Linked DNA regions of Homo sapiens: all the other regions are linked to region 1. Evidence: promoter capture Hi-C in 16 types of primary human blood cells and fetal thymus (Javierre and others, 2016). All regions are on one chromosome and are shown on one strand. Each heading gives the region's core, a stretch centred on a gene start or on the middle of the fragment in contact. The rest is flanking DNA. Distances are from core to core; before and after follow the strand shown.

Region 1 (2,723 bases), core at 156-2,655:
CCCACCATCTCGTCCTTCTCGGCCTTCCTCTTGCCCTGCTTCCAGGCTTTCTCGTCGGTGCTGCTGGGGCACGTCAGGAAGTGCTGGAAGACGTCGCACTGCGCCAGCACTGGGTGGCTGGCCATGTGGTTCATCCACCAGATCAGGCCCTTCCTGCGCTTAGAGATGAAGTCCTCCTCGAAGCGGCCGGTGGCCTGCTTCTCGGGCAGGTGGGGCACGGAGATGACCGGGAACTTCTCCGCCAGGCGCGCGTACAGCCAGTCGAAGTGCTTGTAGCGCCGATGCACCGGCACCTGCGTGTGCGTGGGCACCAGCTTGTAGGAGATGTAGCTCTTCATGCCCTTGAACTTGGTCTGCTTGGTGGGGTCGTCGATGGTGCACTGGAACGGGTAGGGGTTCTCCTGCCACTCGGGGCCATAGGGCCCCAGCACCACGCACAGCTTGTCCCCGTCCTTCACGAAGCCTGACGCCTCCCCCAGCACGAAGGCCTCCCCGCCGGACTTGACGAAGGTGGAGAAGCGATTGAGGTTGCGGCTCACGGTGGCCGAGCTCTTGGGCCCCGACGGGTGGTGCTGCGGGGGGACCGAGCCGCCGCGGGAACCCAGGGACAGGTCGGAGCGCGTGGACAGGCGGTAGCGGCCGGCTGCGCCCACACCCGCCGAAGACGAGCCGTCGAGGTCCGGGTATGCTCCGCTGCCCAGAGCGCCCGGCTCGTCCGCCACCGTGGAGCTGTCGTCCCACTCGTCGTCCCAGTCATCATCGCTGCCTTGGCTGGCCTGGTAGCCGCCGTAGAGCTGCTGAGGCGACGGCTGCAGGGCGCCCCCGCCGTACGGGAAGCCCGCGCCGGGCGGCTGGAAGGTGCTCGGAGGCGGCGCCTGCTGTGGCTGCAGCAGCGCCTGGAAGGCGTCAGGCGGCGGCTTGAAGGAGGCGGGGGGCGCGACAGGCAGGGGCTCGAAGCCCCCGGGGGGCACATTGGCGTAGCGGGCCGGGGCGCCCGGGCCGCCGTCTCCCGCCGGGCCAGGCTCGGGGGCGCGGATCACCTGCACATAGGAGGCCGGGAAGAGGCCGCGGTCGCCGCGGCTGTTGACCCCCTCGAGCCAGCCCTCGATGTCCTGCTCGCTGCACAGGCTCAGCACCTCGTGCTCTCGCAGCGAGATCTCTCCTGGGTTCTCCGACCTGAAGTCGTACAGCGCCCGGGCGCGCAGCGCCATGGTCCCGGCGCCCCGACTGGCGGTCCCGACTCCCGGCGTCCCGAGCCGAGGCCCACCTGAGGGGCCCGCGGTACTGCTCGAGCCCTGGCGCGCGGACTGGAGCCCCGAAGGCGGCAAACCCACGCTGCCCGGACCAGCCGGTCGCGCCCTCCGCGCGGCTCCGCTCGCAGCGCCTCCACTTCGCAGCGCCGACTGCCGCGCTGGGCCGCCGCAGCCGCCGCCGGTCGGGGGCGGGGCCCGCGGCCTCCCACGTCTCCAGCTGCGCTAATCCACGGCCGAGAGCCCCTTGCCAGGCGAGAGCAAGCGATGGCCGAGCCGCCGAGCCCACCGCCCGCGTCGGCTTTGCGGCGGCCACTGCCCTCTAGTGGCCGGTGCCGCGAAGCCGGGCGCCGTAGTGAGCGCGGCTGAAGGAGGTTTCTACTCCGAAGTGAATTATCTGAGATTTCTTTAGGCTTTTAAGTTAAACATTCTCTAGAAAGTAAGTTAGCATTTGCATGCCTGATAAACGTTCCCACTCTGAGCGCTCAGTGAATGCTCCTAGAATGGCAACCCAGTCATGTAATAAAGCATTTTGCAATGCGAATTAGTGATTGCACTAAGAAAACAGGATGCCTCTGCGGAGGAGCTGTTCACCTACAGAGCAGGCTCCCTTCCCTCTTCTGCTCAAGGAGAGGAGATTGGCAAGAACAAAGTAAGGGCCAGGGAAGGTGCTGTGATTGACAAAATTAGAAGCAAAGGATCATGTAGAGAGGGAGGAGCTGGAGAGTTTCCAGTACAATAAATGCTCACACATTTATTACATGCATGTGTCGCCTATCCTCCCATAGATATATGTAGTGCGGTGAATGAGAGCTCAAACTTCGGAGCCAGGCTTCTGAATTTCAATCTGTGTTCTGACACTACCTAGCTGTATGACCTGGAACAAGGCACTTATATCGTACCTACCTCCGGGGGTTGTTGTGGGGATTCCATCATAAAGTAATCCCTATTTTACAGATGAGGAAAGTGAAACAATATCTGGCAGGGTAAGCAGATTTGAAGGGTTTGTTGCTGCTTTTGCTGCTGTTACTGTTATTTGGGGGAAGCAAAATCCCTGGCCTCTTTCACAAAGGGAATAGGGGTACTAAACTAACAATTGCAGGGTACATGCACCAGGAAGCGTCCCAATGTTCACATTGCCACTCCTAGTAAGAGGTCAGTGACCATCCATCCATCTGTTGTCTCTATGTCTCACTATATTTATATTATTTTTAAGATAAATAGAACAAAAATCACTTCCTGAAATAATCAGCTCCAATCTATCGTTGCCTTGTTTCCTATCTTCCTTTCCTTCAGTGTATAATTTGCCCAAAGCTTTTTCTTCTCTTAATCCCCTCTTATTAAGTCTAGCCTAATTATTCCTTTGAAGACACTTCTAATTGAGGTTCTGCATTCATGTGTCATTAATTTCAGCCTGTCCTCTGACCCTTTTCAAGGAAACCTGGGAAACGGGCCAGAAGAGTGTACAATTAT
Region 2 (2,700 bases), core at 30-2,529, 470 kb before region 1:
GTCCTGTGAATTTCTTACAGCTCATTTGTGACAGACCAAGAATTACCCACTTTACTGGGTTGTTATTTACTAAGTGACAGTGAGTCTATATCTCTTTTGACAAGTGAGGTGGGGGCATGGAATTCGGCATGTGGTTGGTGTAAGAACTCCCCTCTCTCCTCTTTAACCTTACTTAATAAGACCCTGGCACAGTTGATATTTTAAGAGGGCTACTCTGTTTTCCCAGAGGGACCTAGGCACGGTAACCCTCTTAGCATGCAGACCTTGTTTCCTGAGGGGTAATGTTTCCCTTCCCTGTGACTTGTTTCTTGGGGGCTGTGTTCTGATTTTCCTGCTGAGCCACTTGTTGCCTTGGGCTGGCTGCCGCGCTTGGCAGTTTTTAGTGAGGGCTCTGATAGATGCCAGGAGGTGAGGGGAAGGGCTCTGGGTGGACTCCGTCATTGGACAAGCAGACTTAGTGATGGATGAGCCTTCCCCTGAGGAAGTTTTGGATCAGAAGTCCAACTGATAAGTTTTTCCAGAATTGAGTAACCCAGAAGCAGTGCCGAAAGGATCTTACCTCTCTTGTGGCTTTTTGTATTGATTTTAAAAGAAATTCTCAGAGGCAGTTCCACATTGTACTGGAAGCACAGCTATATCCACAATAGGCTTAGATATATGTAACATGAATTGCTTTAGAAATAACATTTGAGGAGAGGGGTGAGAGGAAGGAAGAGAGGGTCTTAAAAAATAGCCCTATCAAAATATTTTCTTTCTTCTAAGTATTGAAAAGACACAATATAACCCTTTCTTCTTTCAAATGATCTCATAGCTATTTGTTGAGGGGAAATACCAAATGTTTATTATTTTTTTTGAAGAAGCTTCTTCGGTCCTGATGATTCATGTTGATATCATTTTCCTCCTGACTACAGAGGCTCTGAGACAAAGCTACACCTCAAGTGATATGCCAGGGTCAGAACAATTCCCGTCCTGAAGGAGGGTGTGCAACCTTCTTTATCCCTCCTTCACAGACGTCCTTGAGCCCTTGAGACGGATGTGAGTGAGTTTTTCAGTCCTCATGCAAAACAACCATCTAAACATAACAGATGACATCAGCTTGGGCTTTTCAATTCCTGGATGGCAGCAGCGTGTTAATCCAGCCTTCATCCTGGATTTCATAAACCAAAACAAGAGAGCCTGGCAGGAGGACAGCGCTGCTGCTGGGTTGAGGAAATTGATGACGGGAAAGCATGCGGGCAACCCAGTGTATAAAACTCATAAACGTGTAGGCAGAGGCTCAGCTACCAGTTTGGACGGCTGCTTCCCACCAGCAAAGACCACGACTGGAGAGCCGAGCCGGAGGCAGCTGGGAAACATGAAGAGCGTCTTGCTGCTGACCACGCTCCTCGTGCCTGCACACCTGGTGGCCGCCTGGAGCAATAATTATGCGGTGGACTGCCCTCAACACTGTGACAGCAGTGAGTGCAAAAGCAGCCCGCGCTGCAAGAGGACAGTGCTCGACGACTGTGGCTGCTGCCGAGTGTGCGCTGCAGGGCGGGGAGAAACTTGCTACCGCACAGTCTCAGGCATGGATGGCATGAAGTGTGGCCCGGGGCTGAGGTGTCAGCCTTCTAATGGGGAGGATCCTTTTGGTGAAGAGTTTGGTATCTGCAAAGGTAAAGAGTGACCCCTTACCTCTCCCCTCCCGGGGCATGCTGAGAGCTTTTAGCCAGCTTGGGAGGTGAGGTGGCTTTGCTCCTCAAGAGTAAGAGGGAAAAGGCAGGTGGATTCTTGACAAGGCACCACACAGGTATTGTCATGGGTAGAGACTGAAGGATAGCTCCAAGTAGCAACTGAAACCAGTGTGCAGGAAGGCACAGAAAGAAGTGTGGCATTTTACTCGTTGCCTTAGGAGATCGCAAAAAGAAAGCTGCAATGGAAGATTGTGTTGGCTCCTTTTCTGGAAAACTTTAGAAACTTGACAGGTAATCTGTTAAGGATGGCTTAGGTGCTCTCTCCTCTGCGAGGCAGCGATTACAAAGGTCTGCACTAGATAACCTCTTGGAATGGTTTCTAGCCCCCAGATTTAGTGATTCTTTGATCTTGAAAGGGTCCACAGGATGGAGGGCCACTCTCAAGATCAAATATTTCTGATAAACACAAATGCACTTTATGGAATAGAGTGAGCTTAAGTCATCTAACAAAATAACTCACTCTTCAAAGAGGGTCCCCTGAAGCATAAAACAAACCTCATCTGACTTTATAAAGGTTTTGGTCATCTGGAAAAATAGCAGATGGTGTTAAGACAAGGAAAAATAACAATAGAGAAAAATAAAAACTGGAAGTCTGTAAAGAATGAGGTTGACCACTTGTACACTTAAAGAAAAACTTCGTCGGTTGAAATTTTAGCTAAATAATGTAGTTAAGCATTTGTAGAATTTATTTTAAACATAGTAACTAGTTTAAAATATTTAACATTTTAAAAATGTTTAGAATAAAAAGAATGATGATTTAAAAATACTCTACGTATAGATATCTCATGATCTTATTATGAAGAGCTATTATTAAGAAGCAACACATGCTATAACCCCATCCATCAGTTGTGTAATACCAGGAAGCTTTCAAAATTATAAAAAGGACTGAGAAATTTCTAAATAATTATTATGTTTTATGTATTTAATACATTTTTTATGAATAATATTTATCCAGTATTGTGCTAAT
Region 3 (2,707 bases), core at 46-2,545, 400 kb before region 1:
ATTTCTAGTTCTAGATCCTTGAGGAATCGCCACACTGTCTTCCACAATGGTTGAACTAGTTTACACTCCCACCAACAGTGTAAAAGCATTCCTATTTCTCCACATCCTCTCCAGCACCTGTTGTTTCCTGACTTTTTAATGATTGCCATTCTAACTGGTTTGAGGTGGTATCTCATTGTGGTTTTCATTTGCATTTCTCTGATGGCCAGTGATGATGAGATGTGTCTGTTGGCTGCATAAATGTCTTCTTTTGAGAAGTGTCTGTTCATATCCTTTGCCCATTTTTTGATGGGATTGTTTGAATTTTTCTTATAAATTTGTTTAAGTTCTTTGTAGATTCTGGATATTAGCCCTTTGTCAGATGGGTCCAACCTAAGGCACATTATTCTTAAGTGCACATGGAAAATTATCCAGAATAGAACATCTTTTACAACATAAAATCATCTCAATAATTTAAAAAGAATTGAAATCATACCAAGTCTGTTTTCCAATGACAATAGAATGAAATTAGAAATCAATAAAATAAAATATTCTGGGAAACTTATACATGTGTGGAAATTAAGAGCAGTTTTACATTACCAGTTGGTCAAAGAAGAAATCAAAAGAGCAATTCAAAAATTATTTGAGATGAATGCAAATAAAAACACAAAACACCCAAATTTATGGAATCAGCAAAAAAAATAATGCTCAGAAGGAAATTTATACTTGTAAATATCTACATTTAAAAGAAGAAAAATCTTGAGTCAATAATGTAAACTATTACTGTAAAAAACCAAAACTAGGGGACATTACTGAAATACAAAGGATTATAAGAGAATACTAATAACAAGTGTATGCCAACAAATTAGATAACCTAGGTAAAATGAACAAATTCCTATAAAGACACAAACTACCAACATTGACTCAAGAAGACACAGAAAATCTAAATAGGCCTATAACAAGTAAAGAGATTGTGTTATTCATTTTTTTTAACTCACGAATTAAAGTTCAGGACCAGATGGCTTTACTGGTGAATTCCACCACATATTTAAACAAGAATTAACACCAATCCTTCCCAAGCTTTTCCCAAAAAATGGAAGAGGAGGGAATTATTCCCAATTAATTTGATGAGGTCAGATTACCATGATTTCAAAATCAGATAAGGACATCACAAAAAAGGAGACTACCTGCCAATATTACCAATTAATAGAGATGCAAAAATCCTCTACAACATACTAGCAAGCTGAATCTAGCAATATATAAAAAGAATCATATACCACAACCAAGTGAAATTTATCCCAGGAAAACAAGGTTGGCTCACCATATGAAAATCAATCAATGTAATACACTATATTAATAGAAAAAAATTGAAAGAAAACCATGATAATCTCAATAGATACCAAAAAATACTCCAACAAAATTTAACACCATTTTATGATTTTAAAAAAATTACTCAGCAAACTGGGAAAGAAGAGAATTTGCTCAATTTGATGAAGGGCACCTATGAAAAACCCACAGCTAATACACTTAAAAGTGAAAGACTTAAAGCTTTCCCCTATGATCAGGAAGAAGAGGAGGATGTTTGCTCTTACCACTTCTGTTTAGCATCATGCTAGAGGTTCTAGCCAACACAATTTGCTCTCACCACTTCTGTTCAGCATTATACTAAAGATTCTAGCCAGTCTGATTAGGTAAGAAAAGAAACAAGATGCATTCAGGTTGGAAGAGAAGGAATAAAATCAATTTAAGAGAAATAAAACCAATCTTTATTTGAAGATGACATGGTCTTACAGATTTAAAAAAAGCTCTAAAGAATTCACCAAAAACCTGAGCCAATAACTGAGTTCATTCAGCAAGTTTTCAGGATTTAAAATTGATGTACAAAAATGGGTGTATTTTTGTACAGCCAATAATGTACAACTCAAGAAGGAAATTATGAAAACAACTCCAGTTGCAATAATATCAAAAATAATAAAATACTTAGAAATAAATTTAACCAAGGAAGAGCAAGACTTACGTACACTGAAAACTAGAAAACATTGCTGAAATAAATTAAAGACCTAAATAATTAGAAAGACATCTCATGTTCATGGATTGCGATACTTAATATAGTTAAGATGACAATACTTCCCAAATTGACTTACAGATTCAATATAATCCCCATCAAAATCCCCATGCATGTACAAAAGAGGCTTTTTGCACCACAGAAGAGGAACCCCCAAATTATGAATCTGTCCGTTTCTGTAGGAGCATGATGGCTGTTTTTCCCTCCCTCTTTCTTAGAGAAAGAGAAAAATCTGTGCTCCCTAGTCATTTATAGTCTTTTGAATGTAAATAAATTCTTACAGGAAGAGAAAGGGGAAAGTTCCTACCCTGGAATGTAAATATTTGGCTCCTGAAGATATAAATTTTATTTGTCCTGTTAATGGGAACAGATGGCTTCAGATCTAACACCCTTTAACTTCTAAGGTTTGTCCTCTAAACCGGGTTTTAGTTTCCTTTGCTTGGAAAGCCTTATCTGTGCATAAAAATGAAAATATACTCTGTACAGTCCTACAGTTTGTTTGACCTGGTTCAGCAGGTCAGACACAGCCTTGGCTCACTGGGCCAGATGACGGCCATTACAAGAATGCTTCAGGATATGCAATAATTAAATAGCTTTACACCTTGATTTGTCCAGGACAGTACCAGTTTACACCTGCTGGAGCTCAATTAATGCTTATTAATT
Region 4 (2,700 bases), core at 111-2,610, 380 kb before region 1:
TGCTTTAACTTTCTTCCTTCATTGTAAAGTCTTGCTCCCAAATGCTCTGTGAGGACACTCGTTGAAGTGGCTATCATTGATTTATATTTCTGTGTGAGGAATTCCAGCCCCTTTCTTCAGGGTAGGTTTTTACTCTGAGAAATTATGAAGATGGCAGAGGAATAGAAGGGTCCCCATGGGAACAAAAGCAGGACTGGCATTTGGGGGTATTAAGATACACACTTTACTGACTTCTAAATTTTCCTTGAGGTCTCTGAGTTCTGCTGTAAAATAGTTTGGCTGGCTTTCCATTACTCTCCTATGAAAATGGTAAACTGACAACTTCAAATAGAAAAAAATTTCATATTAATTTCTTCATTTCTTCATCAACTACTTATTGAGTACATGCTGTGTCAGCTGCTGGTCCAGACCCTGGGGAGATAACACAGCATCGATGGTCACTTGGATTAGAGCAGCAACAGAGATGGAGAGAAGCAGATTGATTTGAGTCATGTTTAGATGTAGGGCTAACAGGACTTTGGGTATAAGGAAAAGAGATGAATGAGTGTTGATTCGTAAGGTTTGGACTTGAACCATGAGATAGATGGTGGTGCTATTACAGAGATGAAGGGGATGAGAGGAGGACCAGGCTTGCAGAGCAGAAGTCAAGGCTTCCATTTTTGTCACATTAATTTTGAGATGACTATTTGACAACTGGGGGAAAATGGCAAGCAGGCCTATCTTATTCAGTTCAGGCTGTCATAACATAAGGCCCCATGGACTGGGTGGCTTAAATAACAAACATTTTATTTCTCATAGTTCTAGAAGCTGGGAAGTCCAAGATCAAGGTGCCTGCACATCCAGTGTCTGGTGAGGGCATTCTCCTTGGTTTGTAGACAGCTGTCTTCTCATCGTATCCTCACATGGTAGAGAACAGAGAGAGGAAGCTAGCTCTCTGGTCTCTCCCAATAAGGAAACTAATCCCATTAATGTGGGCTCCATTTTCAAGATCGAATTACCTCTCAAGGCCCCCACTCCTAATACCATCACATTGAGGGTTAGGATTTCAGCATTTGAATTTGGGCAGGGAGGTGGGGGAGAAGGCCAGACATTTGGTCCATAACAAGGGCTTTGGATACACAAGTAAGGCTGAAACCCAGGGGGCCCCTCAGAACCAGAAGTATGAATTTGGGAGTCCTTTCCATGTAGTACTTCAAACCATGGGGCGGGAAAAAATTTGTAGATGGAGAAGAAGAGAGCAGGTAGGGCTGAGCTCTGAGTGCAGAGATGGCTTAGAGGACATGGAGCTAGCAGAGGAGACTAAGCAGGTGCAGTCACTGAAGTGGGAGGTTAACACAGAGCCTGTTGCTTTATGGAAGCCAAGAAAGGAAAGGATTTCAAGGAAAGAGCAGTCAGTTTGAATGCTACTGAATGTAGGGCGAGATGAGAACAGAGAGTACCATCAGGTGTGGTGATTGGCGCTTTCTGCTCTCATCTCATCCTACCTTCAGTAGCTCAGCAGGAAACAGAAATTATACTGCCCTGATTGAATGGGTGCAAAGAGAAGGGGACATCATGTGCTTCAAAGAGTTGGATCAGAAGAGTTGGGGGGAAGTTAGGTATGGTGAAGGGACTATAATATCAGGAAAGGGATTTTTAGGATTAGAATATCCTTTTTAGCTGGAAAAATAGAGAGGGGGATATTGAAGATTGCAGGAGAGAAAGAAAAAGAGAGAGAGAGACGCCTTGAAGAAGCAGAAGGGAATGGGATCTAGAGGCAAGTGGAGGTTTGCCCTGAATAAGTAACTCTAGTGCCTGTAACAAGATGCCGGGTGCAGGGATGACGAGGCTGGGTTGAGGTTGGTCAAAAAGAGACTAAACTCCAAAAGAGGTGAGAAAGCGGAGACAGTGAAAGGAAATGACGCTTTCCAAAAGAAGACTTCTTTCTCTGTGCTAAAGGAAAGGATACATGTTGGGCTACGGAAATGGGATGGAATTTGGAGTTAAAACACTTGAGTCCCAGGATTGAGACTCATCTTAAGCTACTGAGTGTAGCTTACCTGCCCAACAGATTTTTCTGAGGGGAAAAAAGGGGCAATTCACCTACTCAAAAGAATCAAGATGTAATTATTTTCTTAGAATATCTCCACAATTTGATCATGAGGGCTTATCAAAATTTCATGAAAACAGACATTGCATGAATACTCTTAGTATCCACTTATTCATTCATTCATTCATTCCACAGATAGTCATTGAAAACCCATTATGGCCCAAGCACTGCTGCAGGCATTGGGGTTGCTCAGTGACCATACCAAGTCTCTGCCACATAGAGTTTACATTAGAGTGGGAAGGAAAACTATAAATAAGGATCTATGTATACCAGATGGTTATCAATGTTGTGGAGAAAAAGCAGCTTATGCAGAATGGAGGAGCTGTTATCTATGGTGACTATGGGAGTCCTCACCAGTTAGAGTACATTTAAGCAGAGACAGCAGCATGGGACAAGCCATGAGGACGCAGATGCTCCTCATTTTACAATGGGGTTATGTCCCTAGAAGCCCATCAGGAACCTCATAAGCCTATCATAAGTTGAAAATATTGTTAGTCAACAGTGTGTTTTCAACTTACGGTATTTTCAATTTACAATGGGTTTATCCAGATGCAACCCCATCGGGAGCTAAGGAGTGCACTGAATGTGCATCACCTTTGCACCATTCAAAG
Region 5 (2,700 bases), core at 143-2,642, 430 kb before region 1:
GATCCCCACAGCCTAGAGGTACTGACACCAAGGCTTTACGAAAGAGAGAAGAAGAATTCTGCATGAAGAAGGAAGGGAATTTGTCTCTCTCTTGGGAAGAGAGAAGGTCATTTGATCTCAGCCTAGTGATACAGTGCTGCTTCTCCAGCTGTCTATACAGCCTGTTACTTCCGGCATTCTGTTCTTCATGTGAACAGTTCCTACTTACATAATGACCTCTAGGCTAGAACTTCCTAGGTCAGTTATACACCAAGATCTAAGCATTTTAGAAACGGAGATGTTAGCAAGTTTATCTAGGCAATTAAAATAATGTTCCATTTCGTAGACTGAATAGGGTGGGAAAGATGAGACAGCAGAGGAAGAGAGGAACCAGCAAGATGTAGCAAGGCTGGGTTCAGGTAATGTGACCAGTCATGAAGCTCAAACCACTCACTGGTGGGTTAGCTGGGAACATTTCAAAGACAGTGATGGTTGTGATTTAATTTGCAGTTGTTTGTGTTGTTCCATTGCAAATGTGTTTTCCATCACCTTCAAACAAACCCAAAAGCTTCAGCAAAGTCTACCTTGCTCTCAAGCCCCTAGGATGAGTGAGGTTTTACTAGGTGGAACTCAGCAAAGGAGCTAATATTATGTCTGAGTGAACCCAGTACAACCAGAAGCAGTGTCCTAAAAAGCAAAGATGTGATTTTGAAAGGGCAGACATCTCGGAGATTGATTTAAAATTCTACAGGCTGGGAAATTTAGGGGTTCTAGGCACCTCCGATCTTGGCAATCTGATGCCAGAAAACACTCTTCTTCTGCTTGCAAAATGGGAGCAAAAACCCTGGGCCTTCAAGGTTCCTGTCATTCAACTATGCTACCATTTCTTCCTCCTTACTGGTCACCTACCAGCCTCCGGCTGTCTTCCCCTCCATTGCTGATGACTTGGACTCTTGGCTCACAGGTATCCTGTTAAATTGTCACCCTGGGTCACTTTATAACCTTGTGGACAATCCATCCAACACTGGGACCTCTCACAGCCACCACCGTCTTATCTACAATGCCTTCTCTTCTTTTTACCCAGTAAATCCACAGTCTACTTTGGACCAAAATTGCTCATAACTGTGTTACCTTCCAAATCACAAATTCAGATAATTTGCTGTCTGACTACAGTCTGTCCTCCTTTCAATCTGCCCAATTAATCACATCATGAATACTCTTAAGCCATATCGGGACCTTCAGTTTCCAATCCACTGGCCTCTTCACATCTCCACTTCCTTCCTTATTCATCTGGGATTTCATGGTACATCAATTTTGAAAATCACATCAAAACAAAACAAAACAGCTCTTGCCAATTTCTCAAATTTGTTTGGACCTCTGGCTTTTTGCTTCATTCATCTGACAAAACCCTCACACAGGAAACACTCAATTGTCCGGCCCTTCAGGTTGTCAATTGAGGAATAACTCCTACTTGAGATCTTTCTGTACATGGACTTTAGGTGTTGCTTTTAACTGATATAGTGTTGAAAATAGAGTTACACAATTGTGTGATCTAGGGTGGATGTTTAAATACCGCAATCCATATCAGTCATTATTTATATCCAAGCTGAATTTTTTTTTTTTTTGAGATGGAGTCTTGCTCGGTCACCCAGGCTGGAGTCCAGTGGCATGATCTTGGCTCTCTGCAACCTCCGCCTCCTGGGTTCAAGTGATTCTCCTGCCTCAGCCTCCCAAGTAGCTGGGACGACAGGCACCTGCCACCACCCCTGGCTAATTTTTAGTAGAGGCAGAGTTTCACCATGTTGGCCAGGCTGGTCTCGAACTCCTGACCTCAAATGATCCACTCACCTCGGCCTCCCAAGTGCTGGGATTACAGGTGTGAGCCACCGTGCCAGGCTCTGATCTAATTTTTTGATCTCACTTCCCAAGCCAGGCATCTCTCACATTCTCCATCCCTTTTTTTCTTACTTCTCTTTCTCCCTCAACACATCAAATAATTATCAAATCTTGTTGATTCTAAGTCTAAAATCACTCTCAACTTTCAACCTTTCTTCTTCCCTGCTGCTACTGCCATGGTTCAATTCTCTCATTTCTGTTACAGACAATGGAAATCACTTCCCAACTGGCTTTACTGCTTCCCATCTCTAGCCTTTCCATTTCTTCTTCATTTTTACAAAATGCACAACAGATTATGCTATTTCTGCTGCTAAAGTCTCTAATGAACCACCAGTACTTGCAGTATTCTTAGTGAAGCTTAAAATCTTTTACATTCAGTCCCCTAGAAGTCTTTCCAGACCTACCTCCTACTCTCTTCCTCACACACTTTTCACCCTGGCTGCAACACATGATTCTGTGTTCCTAAAGTACACACTGGACATCAGCACTCTCCTTGTCACTGCTCACATTGTTTCCTTGATGATGAAGTCTCATAGTCTTCATCTGTTCTCACTCTACTTAGCCATCAAAACATATATCTGTATATATACATATATGAATATGAATATATATACACACACACACACACACACACACATACCTAGATTCTCTGGTGTACATATGTGCATATACACTCAGTGCGTGCTGGTAAATGTCTAACAACCAGTTCTCAGGGGGAAAAATCCCCAACTAGTTTTGTATGATGATTTCTATGGTATAAATATTCTACCATGGATGATTACAGCTACCTGTATGCCACTGGACTTAGGGCTGGGAAGAGACACA
Region 6 (2,700 bases), core at 18-2,517, 360 kb before region 1:
GCGATGACCCACCCCTGGAGTAGAGGATGCCTCACCTTCCCCTTGTGGCAGTGGGGAGGCCGGGCTCTGTTCTCAGCTCTGCTCCTTCCGTCCTGGATTTTCCTGTACCGCTTCCCCGCCCATTCCTGCCTGGTTCCCAGAGTGGATAGCACAGGGAACTGGAGGCCTAGGGCTACTGTGACTGTGGCTTTGAGGGGGAAGATGTGAGTTGCAGGCCAGGGAGATCTGAGAGTGCAGTGAGTGCCACGCGGGGACAGATTGGGTGGTGATGGGCAAGGATCCAGTGATCCAAGTGGTCAGTGTAGGGTGATAGGAAGCATTGCAGTCAGATGGATGTGGCTTCAATCAGGGTGCTGTCCTATATTCTTAGAATTTGGGGAAGTTACTTCTCTGAGTCTTGATTTTTATCTATGTAAAATGGAGATGATGATAGCTTCTTCAGAGAGGCTTAAATAAAATACTATGTAAGACTGCCTAGCAGCCTGAGAACCACTCATTAAATACTCATTTCCATCCTTTCCTACTCATTACCCTCCTTTCCTCCCCATCTGTGCAATTACCTTGGGTAAGTGCCAGTGGATTAGAAATCCATTTAGGGGAGAGAATGTGGGTAATGGAGATTTATTGAATAAAGAATTCCATAGCATATATTTTAGCATATATGCTGTTCTTCATCCATGGTGCCGATGGCATGACAAATATTGAATACCAAAGTCTTATTCAAATCTACTTTGGCATACTTGGAAGAATATTTTCTTGAGTAGCCAGATGCATTATATGAATTTAAGTTTCTTCCTTAGCTCCTTGGGTGATTCAGGCTATTGCCTTTAGGTCGGTTCTGCTCTCAGTCCTTGAAGAACAAAGGGTGACGTGTCCTGGGCTTGGCAAGTTTCATCACGGTGGGAAACCACCTTTGTCTAGTGACAAAATACTGTCTAGATAGAAATATCTTTATTTGTAAATCATCTATTAGTGCTACCAAAACTAGACCACTCAGCACTAGACTCAATCAATGGTTCAATGGTTCAATGGTTCAATAATTTCTCATTGTTTGACTACCTTCTTGTCAGATCTCCTTAGCGTATTACTGCCTTACCTTGTAACAAGGCTGGTGGAGAACTTGTCCAGGAAGAGAATCACCAGCATCGCTTGTTCCTCTGCGTTACTGGTCCTTACATTATTTGTATATAGCTTTAGCCTGTGGTTTGTTTGGAGGAATTTTGTAAGCTCCTGATCATATTTGTCAGGACTTGTTTAGTTACAGTGAGATAATGCAATTAGTAGACCCAGTTATCCAGGCAAACCTGCCGGTGGTGTGTACTGAATGTGGGGAGAGAGAGAGGGCATCACAGTCACTTTCTACATTGTAGAAGCCCCACCCATCCCTTAGGAGACTTGTGTACTGAGCAGATGAAACTCACACTCAGCAGGTGAGGCCGTCTCATGCCAGTTGAGACAGGATGTCAATCAGTCTGTAAATTTCAAATGAAAAAAATCTTCAGTTCTTACTGGTTTTTAGATACAACAACCCCAGAAGTCCTAACATTTTCTTTTGGTTCCAAAGTAAATAACTTGGCATCCCACGTTACCATTTCTTCTCCAAAGCTGTGGTGCCCAAACCCTAATGTTTTCAGGAGCCAGTGAGTCATAGTGAGCCAAGCAGCCACTTAGTGTGGCAGGAGGTGACGCAGAGTGGTGGGTACCCTGTGGTTGAAGCATCCACACCCCATACATGGTTGCTATGTTGTGGGAACTAATGAGTCCCAGGGTGCCCTGACCATCTGGCTTTTCTAGAGAAGCCAAAAAGTCCAGGTTTTTCTTTAAAATCTCCTGGTTTTAACTTTTTTCTTTTTAAATAGGGCTGTACAGGACATACAAATCACCATAAAGCCCTCTCGGCCTTTGCTCCGGAGGCCCTTAGCTACTGCCTTATTGACCTCTGTATTCCCAGCACATAGTCCATTAACCTACAAATAATAGATGCTCATTAAGTACAAGTGACTGAAGGATAGAATGCTCCTGGGGAGTGTGGTAGGCAGAAAACCAGGCCCCCAGAGATGTTCATGTCCTAATCTCTGAATGTGTGAATATATTGCTTTATATGGGAAAAGGGACTTTGTAGATATGATTATATTTAGGATTTTGAAATGAAGAGAGGATCCTGGGTTATCTGAATGGGCCCTGAATATCAGAAGGGTCTTATAAGAGGGAAATAGGAGAGTGAGAGTTGGAGGAGGAGATGGGAAGCTGAGGTTGAAGAGGTGTGATTGCTGGCTGGGGCCACACGCCAAGGAAAGCAGGTGGCCTCTAGCAGCTGGAAAATGAAGAAAATAGATTCTCCCCTAGAGCCTCTAGAAGGAAGGCAGCCCTTCAGACACCTCGATTTTAGCTCAATGGGACCGCTTTCAGATTCTGACCTCCAGAACTTATAAGATAATAAATTTGTGTTAGTGTAAGCCACTCAATTTGTGGCAATTTGTTATAGTAGCAACAGGAAACTTATACAGGGAGTTTTTGTCTTAGTAAAAGAGATAATTCAATGGCCATATAATCTTATGGGGGCATGAGATGGCAGTGCCATCAGAGAGGAATGAGGGGCTGGAAGAGCTACCAATGTTAGGCTGGGGGCTTTAGAGAAGGTTCTGTCCCTGTGGGGAGTGAGTCTGGCTACAGCACTGACTCCCATGCCTGTGGCTGGGG
Region 7 (2,700 bases), core at 154-2,653, 340 kb before region 1:
CCGTTGAGAAAGCAGCATTTGAGCAGACCCCGGAGGAGGTGATGGATAGGTGAGCTAAGTGTATATTGGAAAAACATTCAGGCAGAAGGAAGAGCAAGAGCAACAGCTTTGTGTGGGGAGCATGCCTGGTGTGTCCGAGGAGCAGCAAGTCATCCAGTGTGGCTGGTGCTGCAGGCGTGGTGGGGAGCACAGCAGATGAGTCAGCAGATCAGGTGTGGGAGGGCCCGAGGCTTCACCTTTGACCTGGAGTAAGGAGTGAGAGGGGAGCACTGGGGGATGAGAAGGTGTGAGCAGAGGAGCGCCAAAGATGTCCCTGAACGGAGTTGGTGACAGGGGACCAAATACTTTTGAATCTGTCAAGATTTTCCATTAGTTTGTTGTATCCTTTAATTTCAGGCCAGCAGGTATTGTTCTGGTTTTAGAAGTCTAGGGATAGACAAATCCCCAACATACCCTCTCTTTGCCTTCAGATTAATATTATTAAATGGCATGTCATTTTGGGAAGTGCCACTCCATTAAAGAAATGATGTATTTTTCCGGGAGAAATACTCTGAACATGACTGGTATTTAAAGGTTACATTTCTAAAGTGCATTAAAACTTCTCCCACATTCTGCTTAGAGCCATCTTCCATGTTTGTTTTCAAATAGCTTAAGACAGCATGTTCCAGGAGCACATGCACAGGCCATGAGCTGGAATTCTTCTGCCCACAGAACTCCAAAGAAATTCTCATAGCACCTCTGTACGAGTGGACACAACTTTCTCTTGAGACCCTTCATGAACTTTTCAACTCTTGTCAGAAACACCTCTGAAAGATCAAAAGACTTTACTCAGAGGAAGTATGCCACAGGAATGCGTGAACTTGAACTGTTAAAAATTTTGGCTGTATTTTATCAAAATAAACACAATCCCAGATACTTTTTCAGAAGTTCAGCTACTCCTTTTGGGGTTTGGGAGTTCTCTGCTGTACGTTTGGGTCACAGACTCACTGCAGCTAAGTTCCCTTTTAGTTTTATAATCCTCTTGGTCTCTGATTTTGATTCTGTGCTCTTCAATATTTCCATCAGAGTTTTAAAGACATGAAAGGCATTTTGATCAAAGTTGTGGTTATGACAAATCCAAGAGGAATAACTAATTCTCTGGAGGACGATTTCAGAGCAAACATTAAAAGGATGAAATCTGACCAGCCTGGGCAACATGGTGAAACCTCCTCTCTACCAAAAATACAAAAAAATTCCCTGGGCATGGTGGTGGGTGCCTGTCTTCCCAACTACTTGGGAGGCTGAGGTGTGAGGATCGCTTGAGCCTGGGAGGTGAAGGTTGCAGTGAGCTGAGATCATGCCACTGCACTCCAGCCTGGGTGACAGAGTAAGACCCCATCTCAAAAAAAAAAAAAAAAAGGATAAAATATGACAAAAGTAAAAGTAAATGCTTGCATTTGGATTATTATAGAGAGGGAGATCTGTGTGGTTGATTTCAGTGTAATTCATCACAGTCTGTCCACAGGGGATGTATGTTAGGTAGTTACGGGTAGCATCCTTTATTAGTTGCACAAAAACCTATTGTATTCTGAAGGAGAAGGAGCAGGATTATAGAAGTATAACCTCAGTAGGAAATATAACCTCACATACAAAGAACAGTTAAAGGACCAACGCATACTTAGTTTAGAAAAGAGAAATTTGGGCAAACTTAATAGTTGCTCTCGTCCATATGTCTCTAAAGGAGAAACTCAAGCAATGGATGAATAGAAGTTTCAGAGCTGAAATCTAACAGTTTGAATTGTCAAACAAAGCGATTACCAGCCTCAAAAATTAGTCACTAACAACACACTTTCATGTTAAGGTAGCACTTTTACCTCAGATCTTCTGATGATCAGTCCAGCATTCTCTCTGCTACACCACATTGCTCAATCGCTTTGTTCCTCCTTAATCTTTTTTTTTTTTTGAGGATGCACAGGAAGCATTTAATAAATTCAAGAGGAATTCAGCCTCACAAATTATGAAATATTGGGAAATCATTCATCATGTAAAAACTGGATATAAAAAGAAATCTTTCCTCTAGGAGATAGCCTCTTCAAAAAATAAAAAAAAATAAAAACCTACAGCCAAGCCAATAAAATGGAGCACATATCTCAGCAGAACTGCAGACAATTATGCTGATATTACTACTTTTAGTTGGTGTTGTGCTGCACGTTGAAATCAGTCCAGTAAAGCAAGAAAAAGTATATATAGAGAGATAACTAATGACTGAAGTGGAAAAATAAGAGTCATTATTTACAGATTATGTGATTGCCTATGTGGAAAGGGAAAAGAATCATATTAAGTACTTTGGACTGAATGATAACCCCCAAAATTCATATGTTGAAGCTCCAAATCCCAGTGTGACTATATGTGAAAATAGGATCTTTAGGAAGTATCATGAAATTATGTTGAGAGATGGCAGGGGAGAGAGAGAGAGAGAGAGAGAGCGAGAAGAGAGGAGCGAAAGACAGAGAGAGAGACAGACTGACTGACCTATTTGTTGGTCTCCATCATGTGAAGACATGAGGAAGTGGGCATTTACATACCAGGAAGAGAGCTCTCACCAGAAGCTGACCATGCTGGCACTCTGGTCTCAGACTTCCAGCCTCCAGAAATGTGAGAATATAAATTTCTGTTTTTAACCTCCTTTATTTAAAATTAAATGAATTTGTAAGCCATTTG

Evidence for each region. Contacts are between HindIII fragments. The CHiCAGO score rates a contact against its expected background, and 5 or more counts as called.
Region 2: a contact is called between the fragment with the promoter of ESM1 here and the fragment with the promoter of SNX18 in region 1, in 4 of 17 cell types (endothelial precursors, erythroblasts, total CD4 T cells and 1 more). The highest score is 8.2, in endothelial precursors.
Region 3: a fragment that was not itself captured here is called in contact with the fragment with the promoter of SNX18 in region 1 in 1 of 17 cell types (total CD8 T cells); the score reaches 5.0 in total CD8 T cells.
Region 4: a fragment that was not itself captured here is called in contact with the fragment with the promoter of SNX18 in region 1 in 17 of 17 cell types (M1 macrophages, M2 macrophages, M0 macrophages and 14 more); the score reaches 27.6 in M1 macrophages.
Region 5: a contact is called between a fragment that was not itself captured here and the fragment with the promoter of SNX18 in region 1, in 1 of 17 cell types (naive B cells). The highest score is 5.7, in naive B cells.
Region 6: a contact is called between a fragment that was not itself captured here and the fragment with the promoter of SNX18 in region 1, in 17 of 17 cell types (monocytes, total B cells, M1 macrophages and 14 more). The highest score is 20.1, in monocytes.
Region 7: a contact is called between a fragment that was not itself captured here and the fragment with the promoter of SNX18 in region 1, in 17 of 17 cell types (naive B cells, neutrophils, monocytes and 14 more). The highest score is 29.8, in naive B cells.

What each region holds. Positions count from the first base shown.
Region 1 is chr5:54,516,441-54,519,163 of GRCh38, reverse strand. SNX18 (sorting nexin 18) reads right to left here and starts at 1,405. Exons shown (of 2, transcript NM_001102575.2): 1 at 1-1,405. The coding sequence starts at 1,211. RefSeq lists an enhancer at 1-497 and silencers at 970-1,529, 1,410-1,651. The HindIII fragment of the contact is 5,643 bases long and covers 1-2,566 here.
Region 2 is chr5:54,984,172-54,986,871 of GRCh38, reverse strand. It overlaps ESM1 (endothelial cell specific molecule 1), which reads left to right and starts at 1,279. Exons shown (of 3, transcript NM_007036.5): 1 at 1,279-1,655. The coding sequence starts at 1,355. The HindIII fragment of the contact is 1,737 bases long and covers 863-2,599 here.
Region 3 is chr5:54,915,484-54,918,190 of GRCh38, reverse strand. No RefSeq gene overlaps it. Among named protein-coding and RNA genes, the nearest start is that of ESM1, 69 kb to the left of the region's middle. The HindIII fragment of the contact is 468 bases long and covers 1,062-1,529 here.
Region 4 is chr5:54,898,211-54,900,910 of GRCh38, reverse strand. No RefSeq gene overlaps it. Among named protein-coding and RNA genes, the nearest start is that of ESM1, 86 kb to the left of the region's middle. RefSeq lists a silencer at 1,082-1,239. The HindIII fragment of the contact is 5,239 bases long and covers 1-2,700 here.
Region 5 is chr5:54,948,815-54,951,514 of GRCh38, reverse strand. No RefSeq gene overlaps it. Among named protein-coding and RNA genes, the nearest start is that of ESM1, 35 kb to the left of the region's middle. The HindIII fragment of the contact is 1,685 bases long and covers 550-2,234 here.
Region 6 is chr5:54,880,466-54,883,165 of GRCh38, reverse strand. No RefSeq gene overlaps it. Among named protein-coding and RNA genes, the nearest start is that of ESM1, 100 kb to the left of the region's middle. The HindIII fragment of the contact is 9,105 bases long and covers 1-2,700 here.
Region 7 is chr5:54,859,724-54,862,423 of GRCh38, reverse strand. It overlaps the pseudogene CSPG4BP. Among named protein-coding and RNA genes, the nearest start is that of LINC02998, 120 kb to the right of the region's middle. The HindIII fragment of the contact is 7,006 bases long and covers 1-2,700 here.